5 separate regions of the Homo sapiens genome follow, and regions 2, 3, 4 and 5 are each linked to region 1. The links are contacts of gene promoters, found by promoter capture Hi-C in blood cells and fetal thymus (Javierre and others, 2016). All regions are on one chromosome and are shown on one strand. The core of a region is centred on a gene start or on the middle of the fragment in contact, and the rest is flanking DNA. Distances in the headings are between cores, read along the strand shown.

Region 1 (2,548 bases), core at 30-2,529:
AATTATGGAATGTCAAATGTCTAAACTAAGAGACTAGGCTTCCCTGTGTGAAAACATCTAAAAAGCCCTTCACTTTCAACACTGAGCACCTGACGGAAAATCTACTCCATTCTCTCATCTGGATACGGGGCCGGTATAACCATCATTGTTGCAGTTACGCAGGAGGCACCTCGCAGCTCAGTCTAGAAAGGAGTCGCGTCTCTGCCGCCAAACAACAAGGCACTCAGCCCGGGAAAAGACAGACTGGGGTGGGAGGAAACCTCCCGGAGAAAGAAGGGATCTGGGAAGAAGAGGGAGCTCAAGCCTGGGAGGAAGGACCTTTCCAGGCAGGAAAGGGAAAGGTTGCGTGAAGTGGAGCTAGAAGCTGGGGGCCGAGGTGAAAGGGGATGAGGGGCCCGGGCCCGGCGGGAGGGCGCCGGGGCTCAGGAGAGCGGCTTCAAGGCCGGGTAGGAGGCGTGGGGGCCGAGGCGGGCGTGGGGGCCGAGGCGGGCGTGGGCAGCTCTCAGCCGACCGCCCGGGTCCGAGCAGCGGGGGCGCTTTCAGCGGCGGCAGGCGCGGGTGCGGGGGAGAGGAGCAGAAAAGAGAGCAGTTTGAGGGGCCGAGGGAGCCGCGTCCGAGGCCGGCGCGGTGGGGACCGCGGGCCCACCACCAGCCAAGCCCAGCTACTTAACTATTTGTAGAGCTGCTGCAGGCACAGGTCCAGGCTTTCGCCCTCCACCTCCTCGCGGGTGATGCGCTCTGACAGCGGTCGCGGGAGCGGGGGCAAAGGCGGCAGCTGGGGCGGCGGCGGCGGCACGGCCGAGTGCCCCGGGGCTGCCGCCGCCGTCGCCGCGCCCTCCTCCTCCTCCTCACCCTCAACCGCCGCCTCCTCCTCGGGCTCCGGGTCTTGCTCCTGGTCCCCCTCCTCCGTCGCGGCTACCGTGGCCGCCTCCTCCCCGGGTTCCTCTACCGAAGCCTCGGCCGCCTCAGCTTCTACCAGTTCAGGTTCGGGCTCGGGCTCGGACTCGGGTTCGGGTTCGGGTTCGGGTTCGGGTTCCGGCTCCGGCTCGCCGCCGCCGCACGGTCCGCGAAACTCGCCCAGGAATAGCTCCAGGAAGCGCCGGTAAGTTTTCTCCTCAGGGATGCAGCCGGCCATCGCTGCTCATGCCCCAGGGCAGACCGGGAAAGGGGTTGGGGGAAGCCCAGGAAGGGTAAGGGGCTGCTTTTGAGCCTAGGGCTCCGGCAAGGGCGGTTAACGGCCGCACCGGCACGAGCGATCAGCACTAGGTTGCCTGGAGAGGGCTCCCGCAGGCGTGCGCGCCGCCGAGCACCGACGTGCGCGGCCCGGGGGCGGAGCGCGCCGCCCCTCTCGGATCTGGAGGGAAAGTTGGTGGCGGGCGCGCGCAGGGTCCAGCGGCGGCCCACCCTTTATTCCTACGGAGAGCTCAGCCCACGCTGCCTAGAGACTGTCGCCATGGCAACCGGTTCTAATTAAGCATTGCAGGGTCCCTCCCGTCGAGTCCGCGGAGTCTAAAGGACACTCCACTCGCCCGCTCTCCAACTCTGAATGTCTTTATTGGTTGGATACCCTACCCTCACGTGGTTAAGAGTGAGCTAAGACATCTCCAAGTCTAGCTGTTGGTTCCCACTTGGGTTGCTTGGATCCCAATTGGATGTACTTCCATTTCCTTATCTGTTCCTTGCCTTAGCGTATGTTTTGAAAGATACCACACTGTGAACACCTTTTGTTGCAGTCTTTGAATAAGTAGTTTTCAGGCAGAGGGAGCTTCAAATACCTACCAAGTGATAAGTTCCTTTGCATAGGTTCTCTCTCACTTGATTCTGTGAAGAAAGTGGTGTTACTCTCATTTCTTAAAAGGAAACTGAAAATTATGATATTAATGGTAATTTACTTGTTTCAAGGTCTCCAAACTTCCAGCCTTGGCGTTGGAGAACTCAGGTCGTTCAGTCGCCAAAGCTTTCCGAAAGTGCATTTTTCCTTAACTCAACTCTGTCTCCGGAGATTCAATAGTGCAATTGTCTGTATAACACCTTATTTCTATTGGGCTTCATAGTTTACACATTGATTTCACCCTTTTAATTCTTACCACAGTCCCTTGAGGTATAGGACGTTACCGTTATGATTTTTTTTTTTTTGAGACAATCTCGCTCTTGTCACCCAGGCTGGAGTGCAGTGGCGCGATCTCAGCTCACTGCAACCTCCGCCTCTCGGGTTCAAGTGATTCTCCTGCGTCAGCCTCCCAAGTAGCTGGGATTACAGGGGCCTGCCACCACCCCCGGCTAACTTTTGTATTTTTAGTAGAGACGGGGTTTCACCATATTGGCCAGGCTGGTCTCAAACTCCTGACCTCAGGTGATCTGCCTGCCTCAGCCTCCCAAAGTGCTGGGATTACAGGTGTGACCCACCACGCCGGCCAATTATTCCATTTTATAGGTGAGAAAACAGCCTTAAAGACATGGTGACTTTGCTCAAGGTCACATGCAAGGGATGCAACAAGGACTCAATCCAGGTCTTTTCACTGGATTCACCCACTTCAATGGATTTTAC
Region 2 (2,548 bases), core at 15-2,514, 230 kb before region 1:
TGTGAGATGAGAGAAAGGGTATGGTAAGTTCCTTTACCCATGCCCAAGGCCGCTGTATACTCCCCTGGGTGTGTGTCACAGCCGACACTTCTTAGGGCTCTTTACAGTATTTTCTGAGCCCCTGGTAGAGATTGTAAAGAAAAAGCCTGCAAGATAGGGCGACTCCCCTAGTTTCTGCAGGCCCCCGGGTCTTAACACTCCTGCAGCCCATATTCTGCCTTCACCAATCATCACTTTTAGCTAGCCTATTCTTTCCAGTGTCTGTTTACAACGACCCTACGAAACTAGTGCTAATGTCTTCTCTCCCCTTGCAGGCAACTGCCCCTCTCCATTTGGTGCCACTTGGTTACTCTGCAACCTCAGCTTTCCAATGGATTCGAAAAAATGTCCTAATTTATAGTTCATCTGGCTCGTTTGCATTGTAAGAGTAGAAGAAATGCTCCTTCTACCCCTACATCCCGGAGTGGAAGCTGGAAGTGCTGTGATTTAAAAATGTATATATGTAAAACACACATTTTATTGAATGTAAAACATGAGTGTAATTAATCCTAAAACCAGAATTCAGAAAATGAGCCATTTTTAATTTTTTTATCTAGTTTTTTAAATGTTTGAATTATAAAGGTGATAAGATTAGAAAAATTTGGGAAATAGAAAACCCCAAGAGCTATTTTCTTTTTTGCATATTCATTTGAATTTTTATGTGGTAATATTTTTAGATTTCTCCTCATTCTACCTCTCATTCTCACATCTACCAATACATGCCTTCATAGTCTAGATTTATAGAAGTTTTAGAACTCTGCTTAGGGATGCTTAAGAGCAAATGGTAAGATTAGCCACAGTGTAGTTTGGGACATCAGTAGTACGGGCTGCTCTCTTTCTAAAATCCTTTTCTCTGGCTGGCATGTTGACCGGGAGTCTCCCTTCCATTCCTGCTCTGCAGACCCTGCGGGCCAGAGTCCTTGCCCGAGACCTTCAGGTCAGTCAGTGTCTCCTGGTGTGCATTTGGGAAAGGCTGCTGCATAGGCTCACCTCCCACTGGGTTTCATTTGACCTAGTGAACCCGTAGCAACTCGATTTGGCTTAATTGGCCACCCCTAATCCTGTAGCTGTCATACTACTCAATGTAATGACTAGCAGGGACAACTTTTTCATCATCTTTAGTTAAACTCCAGTTACTCATTTGGAAAATGGTTTCCCCAAATGTGTATCATTCTTGACAGTTTTTCACATTTGTTTCCCTGGTCCTAAAGCAAGATTATAAAAATCAAATAGAACCTGTGTGTGAGGGCCCTTGTTTGCACAATGAGGAGAGGACACACTTCATCTGGAGGTTGCGTGACTGGGGCAGCATCCTACAGCTCAGCATAAGAGGCAGGCTCAACCAACTGCCCAGGGAAGAGCGCTTCTTACTAAACATATTCAACAGTTGGGGCTCTCAGAAAAGAATGTGACTTGTTTTAAATGTAAGTAAGGGATCTTCCATAAGGTTATTCCTAGGCCAAGCAAAAGGAGGTTCCCTAAAGCACAATAGAAAAAGTGTTCTTTACTAATTGCTGTTAAGATGACAGATGGGGCTGGGCGTGGTGTCTCACACCTGTAAATCCCAGCACTTGGGGAGGCCAAGGCAGGCAGATCACTTGAGGTCAGGTGTTCAAGACCAGTCTGGCCAACATGGCAAAACCCCGTCTCTACTAAAAACACAAAAGCCAGGCGTGGTGGCCGACGCCTGTAATCCCAGCATCCTGGGAGGCTGAGGCACAAGAATTGCTTGAACCTGGGAGGCAGAGGTTGCAGTGAGCCGAGATTGCACCACTGCACTCCAGCCAGGGTGACACAGCAGGACTCTTGTCTCAAAAAAGAAAAAAAAAAAAAAAAAAGACAGATGGAAACTTGCAATCAAAAAGAAAATGATGCACTTAGGGAGGCCGAGGTGGGAGGGTGGATCATCTGAGGTCAGGAGTTCGAGACCAGCCTGGCCAACATGGTGAAACCCCACCTCCACTAATAATAATAAAATGAGCTGGGTGTGGTGGCGGGCGCCTGTAATCCCAGCTACTTGGGAGATTGAGGCAGGAAAATCGCTTGAACCTGGGAGGCAGAGGTTGTGGTGAGCCAAGATCACGTCACTGCACTCCGGCCTGGGTGACAGAATGAAACTCCATCTCAAAAGAAGGAAAGGAAATGATGCACACTGACAGCAACAGGGGGCGGGTGTGGGGGGGAATGCTCAGTTATGCAGCTTGTCAGTACAGACAGTTGTTTCTGATAATTTGGTAACTTGGGTAAATTTCTATGATGTTCAAATGATTTTACTGTACCTAGTGGTTCCCTTCTGTCTTGCTGTGTGCTGCTCCTTCAGAAAGAGGTGTTCCTTTTGATCTAAGTAATACTATATTTTAGGGAATTTTTTCAAGTGTAACACTTACTAATCAAAATGTTCCTTTTCTGTCATTCCCTGCTTCAGTAAACCCCTTCAAATATGTCCTTCTTTCAAAACTTCACCTTTTTTTTCTCAATTGTTCATTTGGTTCTATATAAAGTCATGCCA
Region 3 (2,548 bases), core at 35-2,534, 210 kb before region 1:
CTACATTCTTATTGAGAAGCAATTTATAATTAAGCTTTTCAGCTGGGAGCTATACTATTAATAATGGAATTTCACACATATATAATAATTCATTGTCTCAATGCATTTGTATATGCATGTATGTATTTATGTGTATATACACACATAAGTCCACCTGATCTGTGATATGCAGGGCGAGGATGATTATTAATTCCACTTTAAATATAGATAAGAAAACTATGGCAGGTTATGTGACTTGCCCAAGGGCAGGTAACTATTAGTATATAAGACAGAATTGAAATTCTTTTTCCTCCCAGTCAAGCACTAAATCCTCTATACCAATCCTCAGAGTAAAAATTTCTATATTCTGCTCTCCATTTCATTACTGACATCGTATTTGTTCAGTGGGAGAGTCCTAGCTGTATAAAATGATATATAAAACATCTGATTGGTACACAACAGATGCTCTAATCTCTGGAAATTAAGCTAAGGGGCCAAGAGACAGCTTACGTTCCCTGGAGTACTAAGATGCTTATACCTTTAAAAAAATATCCTTCCTACAGTATTTTTAGGGGTCTTTGCTTTTGGAACATTGCATAAAGAACTAACAGCCTGGAATTTCACTGCAGTAGCTACGACTGTACTTAAAGCTCTTGGTCCTACTATACGAAAATGACATCCCCATTTGACATGAGTCACCACCAAATGAGCATGACTTTCTGTTACTAAGGACCTGGCCTAAATTAGAACCAATGCGTCAGGGGTGGTAAAAGGTCTCTTGTATCCAATGAGAAAAACAACTTCTCGTTTTCCCTATATAGGGAAAGTTTGTTATAAATCCTCACCCACCAATAAAATGTCTTCCCACACAGAATGTTCAAAAACTCAGCCCCCTAGAACACATGATAAACACACTTCAGTGCATATGCCCTGGAGAGAACAGGAGGCAGGGCTGCTTCATAACAGGAATAGCTGTTTTCTTCCCAGCAGTTAGCAGCACATGGAAGCATAAGAAGGAGAAAAGGGGCGCTGAGACAAACCTAAATTATTCAGAACTATTGGCAGAACTGAGAGACACCAGGGTCACTGACAAAACAAATGAGGTAAACATGGTCAGAAAACAACAACAACAACAACAACACATAATTTTGAGAAGACAGAGGAAAAAAAGAATAGAATAGAGGATGAAGAAGACAGAGTGAATCTCTTTGTTTCACATTGATGATTACGGGTCACCTCTCAGGGGCCGGCCCTTGTCCTCGACTCAGATGATAAAAGCCCACAGCTTCAAGAGAGGCAGAGCCAAGCAGAATGCAGGTCCTCAAGAGACTGGAGCTCTGAGGTCAAGAGTGGCTTTATTCTCCAGACCCACCTCTTTGTGTGGACTCTACTGGTTACTGTTGGATTTGCATATTAATCCAAACTTAGGGGAGGGGAGAGATGAAGAATAATTCTCTTTCTTAATACCAAATAGGTCTGAGTTATTGTTTCATTAATTCTAAGCCCCATTATTGCTTGTAGCATAACTATGCTATCAAAAAATGGATTAAATGATTACCCTGATCTCTCCAAGCCCATTTTAAAAAGAGTTAATGTTTAAGTCACAGGGCAGGAGTCTTATTTTTTGTCTGTATCTACTTCTGTAATTATTTTTAAAAATTAAAAATTCTTTTATTCGTCCCCAGTTAAAAATCCAATATAGAACACTGTAGTTAATTATGTACCAATACCCAGAACGATAATTAGATTAATTTTTTTACTTTTAGACCTTAATATAGAGCCCTTGCCATTTATTCAAAGTAAAAAAAACTTAGGTCTGATTAACCTTCGCAATGTAGGACATGAGCTCTTCTTTTCTCCCTATTAAGAGAAAAATCAGCTCAAGGATCATTTAAGGATTCACCCTCTCCAAGCGAATTTTCCCTCAAGAGATACACAGCAAAACACTGCCTACCCATTTAGAACCAAATGTATGGAAGTAATCCCAGTTTCTGTTTCTTTTTTAGACCATTGTTTTATTCACCATATCCAGATCTTGTCAGCAAGAGTCTGCTTAGAGAGATGGTCCTGGTGTGAACCTGACAGGCAATGGTGAATAAAAGAAAGATGAAACTCACCTGCCAAATCCAGCAGTTATTACAGAAATGAATCCAGAAAATTACAGCTTGAGATTTTCTATACAGTACCTCATTGTACCCCCTGAAACTCTTCCTGAGGAGGGAATTGGAACTACAACAGAATCCAATACTGTGAGTCAAGAATACAGTTTGGATAATGTCTGCCCAGAAAGAGAAAATCTAAATAGCCCTTTAACCACACAGACCAAATTGAGCTCAGCTAGTACATTTCTAGCTGGAACTTATGAGAAAGGGGCATACCTCCCTGGCTGCTTTCTGCACAAACCGCTCATCAGTGACCCGGAAGGCCCTGCACAGGGCCTCAGCAGGATCATGGGGGAACATCTCCTGGCGGACTAAGTTAACGTGGAGGTGAATGGAGGCATAAATAGCAGCATCTACTCCCCCATGGCCATCAAACACTGCAAAGTAAGCTTGTTCTTCCTGGTCCT
Region 4 (2,548 bases), core at 24-2,523, 190 kb before region 1:
GCTATATTTATATCAGCTAAAACAGACTTTAAGTCGAAAGCTATAAAAAGAGACAAAGAAGGACATTATATAGTAATTAAGGAAACAATTCAAGAAGCTATAACAATTGTAAATATACATGCACCTAAGACCAGCACACCCAGATTCATAAAGAAAATACTATTAGATCTAAAGGAAGAGACAGATGCCAATACAATAACAGCTGGGGACTTCAACACCCAACTCAGCATTGCAGAAATCATCTAGGCAGAAAATCAACAAGGAAACATCAGATAAACCATAGCATAGCTCTAACAGACATTTACAGAACATTTCACCCAACAGCTGCAGAATATGCATTCTTTTTATTAGCAAATGGAACATTCTCCAGAATTGACTACATGTTAGGACACAGAACAAGGCTAAAAAAATTTTTTTAATTGAAGTCATATCAAGTATCTTATCTGACTATGGAATAAAACTAGAAACCAATAACAAGTGAAACATTCAAAATTACACAAATACATGGAAATTACACAACATGCTCCTAAACAACCAATGGGTGAAGAAAGAAATTAAGAAGGAAATTGACTAATTCCTTGAAACAAATGAAAACAGAAACACAACATACCAAAACCTATGGGACTCAGCCAAAGCAGTATATAATATGTCTCTGCAGTAAAAATATGTATGAAAATTGAAATTAAATTTTTAAAAACTTTCTGTGACCATAAGGCTCCAGCGTTAAACATTTTCTTTTTCATTGCCTTATCAGTGTAACTACTGGTACACAAATGATCTAATATAGTATACACTTTGATAAACATAAAAATTAAACTCTCATTGGAGAATTTTTTTTTAAAGGAAGAAACCTTACTTGCCAGATAAGAAATCTTATCTGCCATGGTCTTGGCCTCAATGAAATCTTGGACCTCAAGCTTCAGCCTAATACCATAATGGGATTAGACTTTGGGAAATCTTAGGGGATGTTGGGTGAGTGCATTTAGCACATGGGAAGGATGTGAATTGTGTGGCCAGAAAAGACTGTGGCAGATTATTTTTAAAAAGGCCGCAACAGCATTCCTGGTCCCGCATGCTATTTTAGAACTTTGCCATTCCCCATAAAAAAATAGAGTCTGTTTCCCTTCCTAATCTAAACATGGGTGAGGTGTGGTGACTACTCGGATGAAAAAAATGTAGCAAAAGTGATACTGTGTGACTTTTGAAGTTTGTTCATAAAAGGCCACGTGGCTTCCCCCGGCTTCCTCTTCTTTCTTCCTCTGTCTCCCTCTGGATACTTGCTCTTCATACTCAGCCAAGCCATCAAGCCATGAGGAAGCCCAAACTAGCCATGTGGAGAAACCACATGAACAGGCTCATGTGGATGTAGCCTGAGGTCTCCCAGGCAGTAGCCATTATCAATTGCTTGACATGTAAGTTCACAAGCCTTCAGATGATTCCAGTCCCCCAGCCTGAGTCTTCCAACAGAGACCCCAGTTGGAACAGAGATAAGGTGACCTTGCTTTACCCAGTTTTAATTTCTGACTGAAAGACATTGTGAGCATAATAAATAATTGTTTTATGCCACTAAGTTTTGTGGTAATTTGCAATACAGTGACAATAACTGAAAACCCAATATTTAGAAGCTTAGTAGAAGACAAGGGACCTATGAAGACTAAAGAGAAATGGCAAAATCTGTAAAAGGAGAACCGAGATAGTAGAGAGTATTTGAAGGAGGGAGCAGTGAACTCTGTCAATTGCTGAGAGGTCAAATAAGTGAAAAAAAAAAAAAAAAGGCCAGGTGCAGTGTCTCGTACCCGTAATCCCAGCCCCTTGGGAGGCCAAGGTGGGTGGATCACCTGAGACCAGGAATTCAAGACCAGCCTGGCTAACATGGTGAAACCCTGTCTCTACCAAAAATACAAAAACTAGCTGGGTGTGGTGGTGCACGCCTATAATCCCAGCTACTTGGGTGGCTGAGGCATGAGAATCGCCTGAACCCAAGAGGCAGAGGTTGCAGTGAGCTGAGATCACGTCACTGCACTCCAGCCTGGGTGATAAAGCAAGACTGTCTCAAAAAAAAAAAAAAAAAAAAAAAGGCCAGGAGTGTGGCTCACACTTGTAATCCCAACACTTTGGGAGACCGAGGTGGGCAGATCACACTCAAGCCTGGGCAACAGAGCAAGACTGTCTAAAAAAAAAAAAAAAAAAAAAAAAAAAACAGGAAAAAGGAAAATAACTTTCTGTTTAACAAAATGGTCAAATGGTGCTGGAAAAATTGGATATCCACATGCAAAATAATCAAGTTGGACCCCTTCCTTACACCATATACAAAAATTAATGCCAAATGCATCACAGACCTAAATGTAAAGCTAAAACTCATAAAACTCCTAAAAGAAAACTCCTAAAAGAGTAAATCTTCATGACCTTGGATTAGGCAATGGTTTTCTTAGCTCTGACACCAAAAGCACAAGCAGAAAAGAAAAAAAATATTAAATTGGACTACATCAAAATTTAAAACTTTTGTATCACAAATCAGTAAAGTGAAAAGACAACCCATAGACTGGTA
Region 5 (2,548 bases), core at 29-2,528, 150 kb before region 1:
ATTGTACAGTTCAACCCTAGCCAATAGGGGAAGGACACAGGGATAGGGACTGCGTTAGGGATAAAAAATCCTTCTCTCCTTTGTTTGGTGTGCTCTCGCAGAGGCCAGAAGTGCAAGCGGCACCCTTCTGCACAAGTAAATTTGCCTTGCTGAGAAATGGTTTGAGTGCTTGTTTTCCTTGCGACTCTGAGCTCTTGTTTCTAACACTCACTCTCTTAAAAAAAGTACCTTCTTAACATCTTTCTTATTATTTATTTGTGAATGAATGTCTATCTCACTCTTGCCCTCCACAAGGACTCAATCAATAATGTTCACTTATTTATCTTCAGCACCCAGAACAGCACCTAGTATACAGTAGGCATTCAATAAGTATTTGTTGAATGAATGAATGACTTTATATTAAAAACGTACAAAAGAAAAACGCTTCAGGGTTATCTGCATTTTAACAAGAACAATAAACCAAAGAAATAAACCTCTAGTGTTACAATTTTAGATATTATTCTTATTAACCAGTAGAGATACTTTTAAATGCACCTGAAAAGCCTTCAACTGACCCTTTGAAATCATGATGAAATCATGAAATAACCAGATGCTTATTTCATCTGGTCCTAAGGCCTACTCCAATCTTTAGTATGGCCCTGACTATTCTGTAGTACACAAATGGTGGTTAAATGTTATCCCCTATTCCTGTGTTACAATTAAAATAAAGAGAAAAAAATTTGAAGAGAATTATTTTAACAATAGAGGGAAGACTTCCAGCTTTGGTTCCACTTGTAAGAAGCTTGGAAGTGGCCACTCCAACCTAACAACAAGTAAAAAGCTAAGCAAACTGCAAAACCAACAATACTTCTTAGATTCTTAAGAGAAGTGAGGTCACAGTTGCTCCTAAAATTGGACAGGTGTATACAGAGAATTATAAAACATACCCATCAGACACCTCCATAGGAACCAATTCCAGGGTAAGAAAACCTGAACTGTAATTGACAAACTGCTGGAGACTAGGTGTAGAAGTCTGATAGTCAAAAACTCCAGGAAGACCCAGTCAGAGGGGCTCCCCACACTTTTGTGAGTTTCACCTCCAGGAGCTCTACCAGGTCATCACAGTGAGTATCAGAAAAAAATCCCCTCATGAATCTGGCAAGAGGAGGGGAAAAGGAACCATGTTGAAATGCGGCAGAGCACCCTCTTCTTCTTAATAAGGTCTTCTTTCAGAAGAAACTAGCTAACCAGAGTCTAATGTGATGGGGTTTATCAGAGCCTAACTGACCTAGGGGAAGGGCAATACCCATCTCCAGCTCACTCTAGCCTTCTTGTCCCACCTAAGGTGGAGGAAAAAACAAAACCAACCCTGAGAACAATATGTGAAGCTCACAGTCCATAAGTACAGCCTCACTAAAAGAATGAAGTCTAATTACAGGACTAGTTTCCCCTAACTACATACCTTATCACCACATTACTAAAGGGCTATTTATAGCAGTTCCTTTTACCCTATACATCATGTCTGGCTATTAAGAAAAAATTACAAGACATACTAAAAGCAAAAAAAATTTTGAAAAGACAGAACAAGTATCAGAACTAGATATGGTGGAGAGGTTGGGATTATCATACCAGGAATTTAAAACAACTATGATTAATATGCTAAGGGCTCTAATGGATAACGTAGACAACATGCAAAAAGAGATGGGCGGTATAAGCAGAGAGGTGGAAATCTAAAGAAAGAGCCAAAATGAATGCTAGAGATAAAAAACACTGTAAAAGAAATGAAGAAAGCTTTTGATGGGCTTATTAGTAGCCTGGACTTGGCTTAGGAAAGAATTTCTAAGCTTGAGGATATACAATAGAAACCTCCAAAACTGAAAAGCAAATAAGGACTGAAAAAAACAGAACAGAATACTCAAGAACTGTGGGGCAACGAGGCGGGTGGATCACCTGAGGTCAGGAGTTCAAGACCAGCCTGGCCAACATGGCAAAACCCCTTCTCTACCAAAAATACAAAAATTATCTGGGTGTGGTGGCGGGCACCTATAATCCCAGCTAGTTGGGAGGCTGAGGCAGGAGAATCACTTGAATCCAGGAGGTGGAGTTTGCAGTGAGCCAAGATAGCACCACTGCACTCCAGTCTCAAAAAAAAAAAAAAAAAAAAGAAAAAGAAAAAAGAAAGAAAGAAAGAAAGAAAGAAAAATGACTAAGAATTTCCCCAAGGTAATGTCTTGGCACCAAATCACAGACCCAGAAATCTCAGAGAACACCAAGAAGAATAAATGTCAAAAAACAAAAACAAAAACCCTGTACCTAGGAATATCATTTTAAACTATAGAAAATCAAGGATAAAGAATGAAATCTTGAAAGAAGCCAGAAAAATAAAACACCTTACTTACAGAGGAGCAAAGAGAAGAATTGTATCTATCTTTTCCTCAGAAACCATGCAAGCAAGAAGAGAACAGAGTGAAAAAAGGGTTGAGAGAAAAAAACCACCCACCTAGAATTCTGTACCCTGCAATATTCCTTCAAAAGCAAAGGAGAGGTCAGCCATGGTGGCTCACACCTG

Evidence for each region. Contacts are between HindIII fragments. The CHiCAGO score rates a contact against its expected background, and 5 or more counts as called.
Region 2: a fragment that was not itself captured here is called in contact with the fragment with the promoter of PPM1E in region 1 in 6 of 17 cell types (megakaryocytes, naive B cells, naive CD8 T cells and 3 more); the score reaches 7.3 in megakaryocytes.
Region 3: a fragment that was not itself captured here is called in contact with the fragment with the promoter of PPM1E in region 1 in 4 of 17 cell types (erythroblasts, megakaryocytes, endothelial precursors and 1 more); the score reaches 6.0 in erythroblasts.
Region 4: a contact is called between a fragment that was not itself captured here and the fragment with the promoter of PPM1E in region 1, in 3 of 17 cell types (erythroblasts, endothelial precursors and M0 macrophages). The highest score is 7.6, in erythroblasts.
Region 5: a fragment that was not itself captured here is called in contact with the fragment with the promoter of PPM1E in region 1 in 1 of 17 cell types (M1 macrophages); the score reaches 5.5 in M1 macrophages.

What each region holds. Positions count from the first base shown.
Region 1 is chr17:58,754,585-58,757,132 of GRCh38, reverse strand. PPM1E (protein phosphatase, Mg2+/Mn2+ dependent 1E) reads right to left here and starts at 1,279. Exons shown (of 7, transcript NM_014906.5): 1 at 672-1,279. The coding sequence starts at 1,135. LOC105371843 (a long non-coding RNA gene) reads left to right here and starts at 1,023. Exons shown (of 3, transcript XR_007065866.1): 1 at 1,023-1,102. RefSeq lists silencers at 1,123-1,271, 1,271-1,460. The HindIII fragment of the contact is 8,580 bases long and covers 1-1,959 here.
Region 2 is chr17:58,985,834-58,988,381 of GRCh38, reverse strand. It overlaps a transcript of TRIM37 not described here. Among named protein-coding and RNA genes, the nearest start is that of TRIM37, 120 kb to the left of the region's middle. The HindIII fragment of the contact is 3,205 bases long and covers 1-2,548 here.
Region 3 is chr17:58,969,537-58,972,084 of GRCh38, reverse strand. It overlaps PPM1E (protein phosphatase, Mg2+/Mn2+ dependent 1E), which reads right to left. Exons shown (of 7, transcript NM_014906.5): 4 at 2,358-2,546. It also overlaps a transcript of TRIM37 not described here. Among named protein-coding and RNA genes, the nearest start is that of TRIM37, 140 kb to the left of the region's middle. The HindIII fragment of the contact is 2,496 bases long and covers 37-2,532 here.
Region 4 is chr17:58,946,763-58,949,310 of GRCh38, reverse strand. The region is part of intron 1 of PPM1E (protein phosphatase, Mg2+/Mn2+ dependent 1E); the gene reads right to left. Among named protein-coding and RNA genes, the nearest start is that of TRIM37, 160 kb to the left of the region's middle. The HindIII fragment of the contact is 708 bases long and covers 920-1,627 here.
Region 5 is chr17:58,909,520-58,912,067 of GRCh38, reverse strand. The region is part of intron 1 of PPM1E (protein phosphatase, Mg2+/Mn2+ dependent 1E); the gene reads right to left. Among named protein-coding and RNA genes, the nearest start is that of PPM1E, 150 kb to the right of the region's middle. The HindIII fragment of the contact is 989 bases long and covers 784-1,772 here.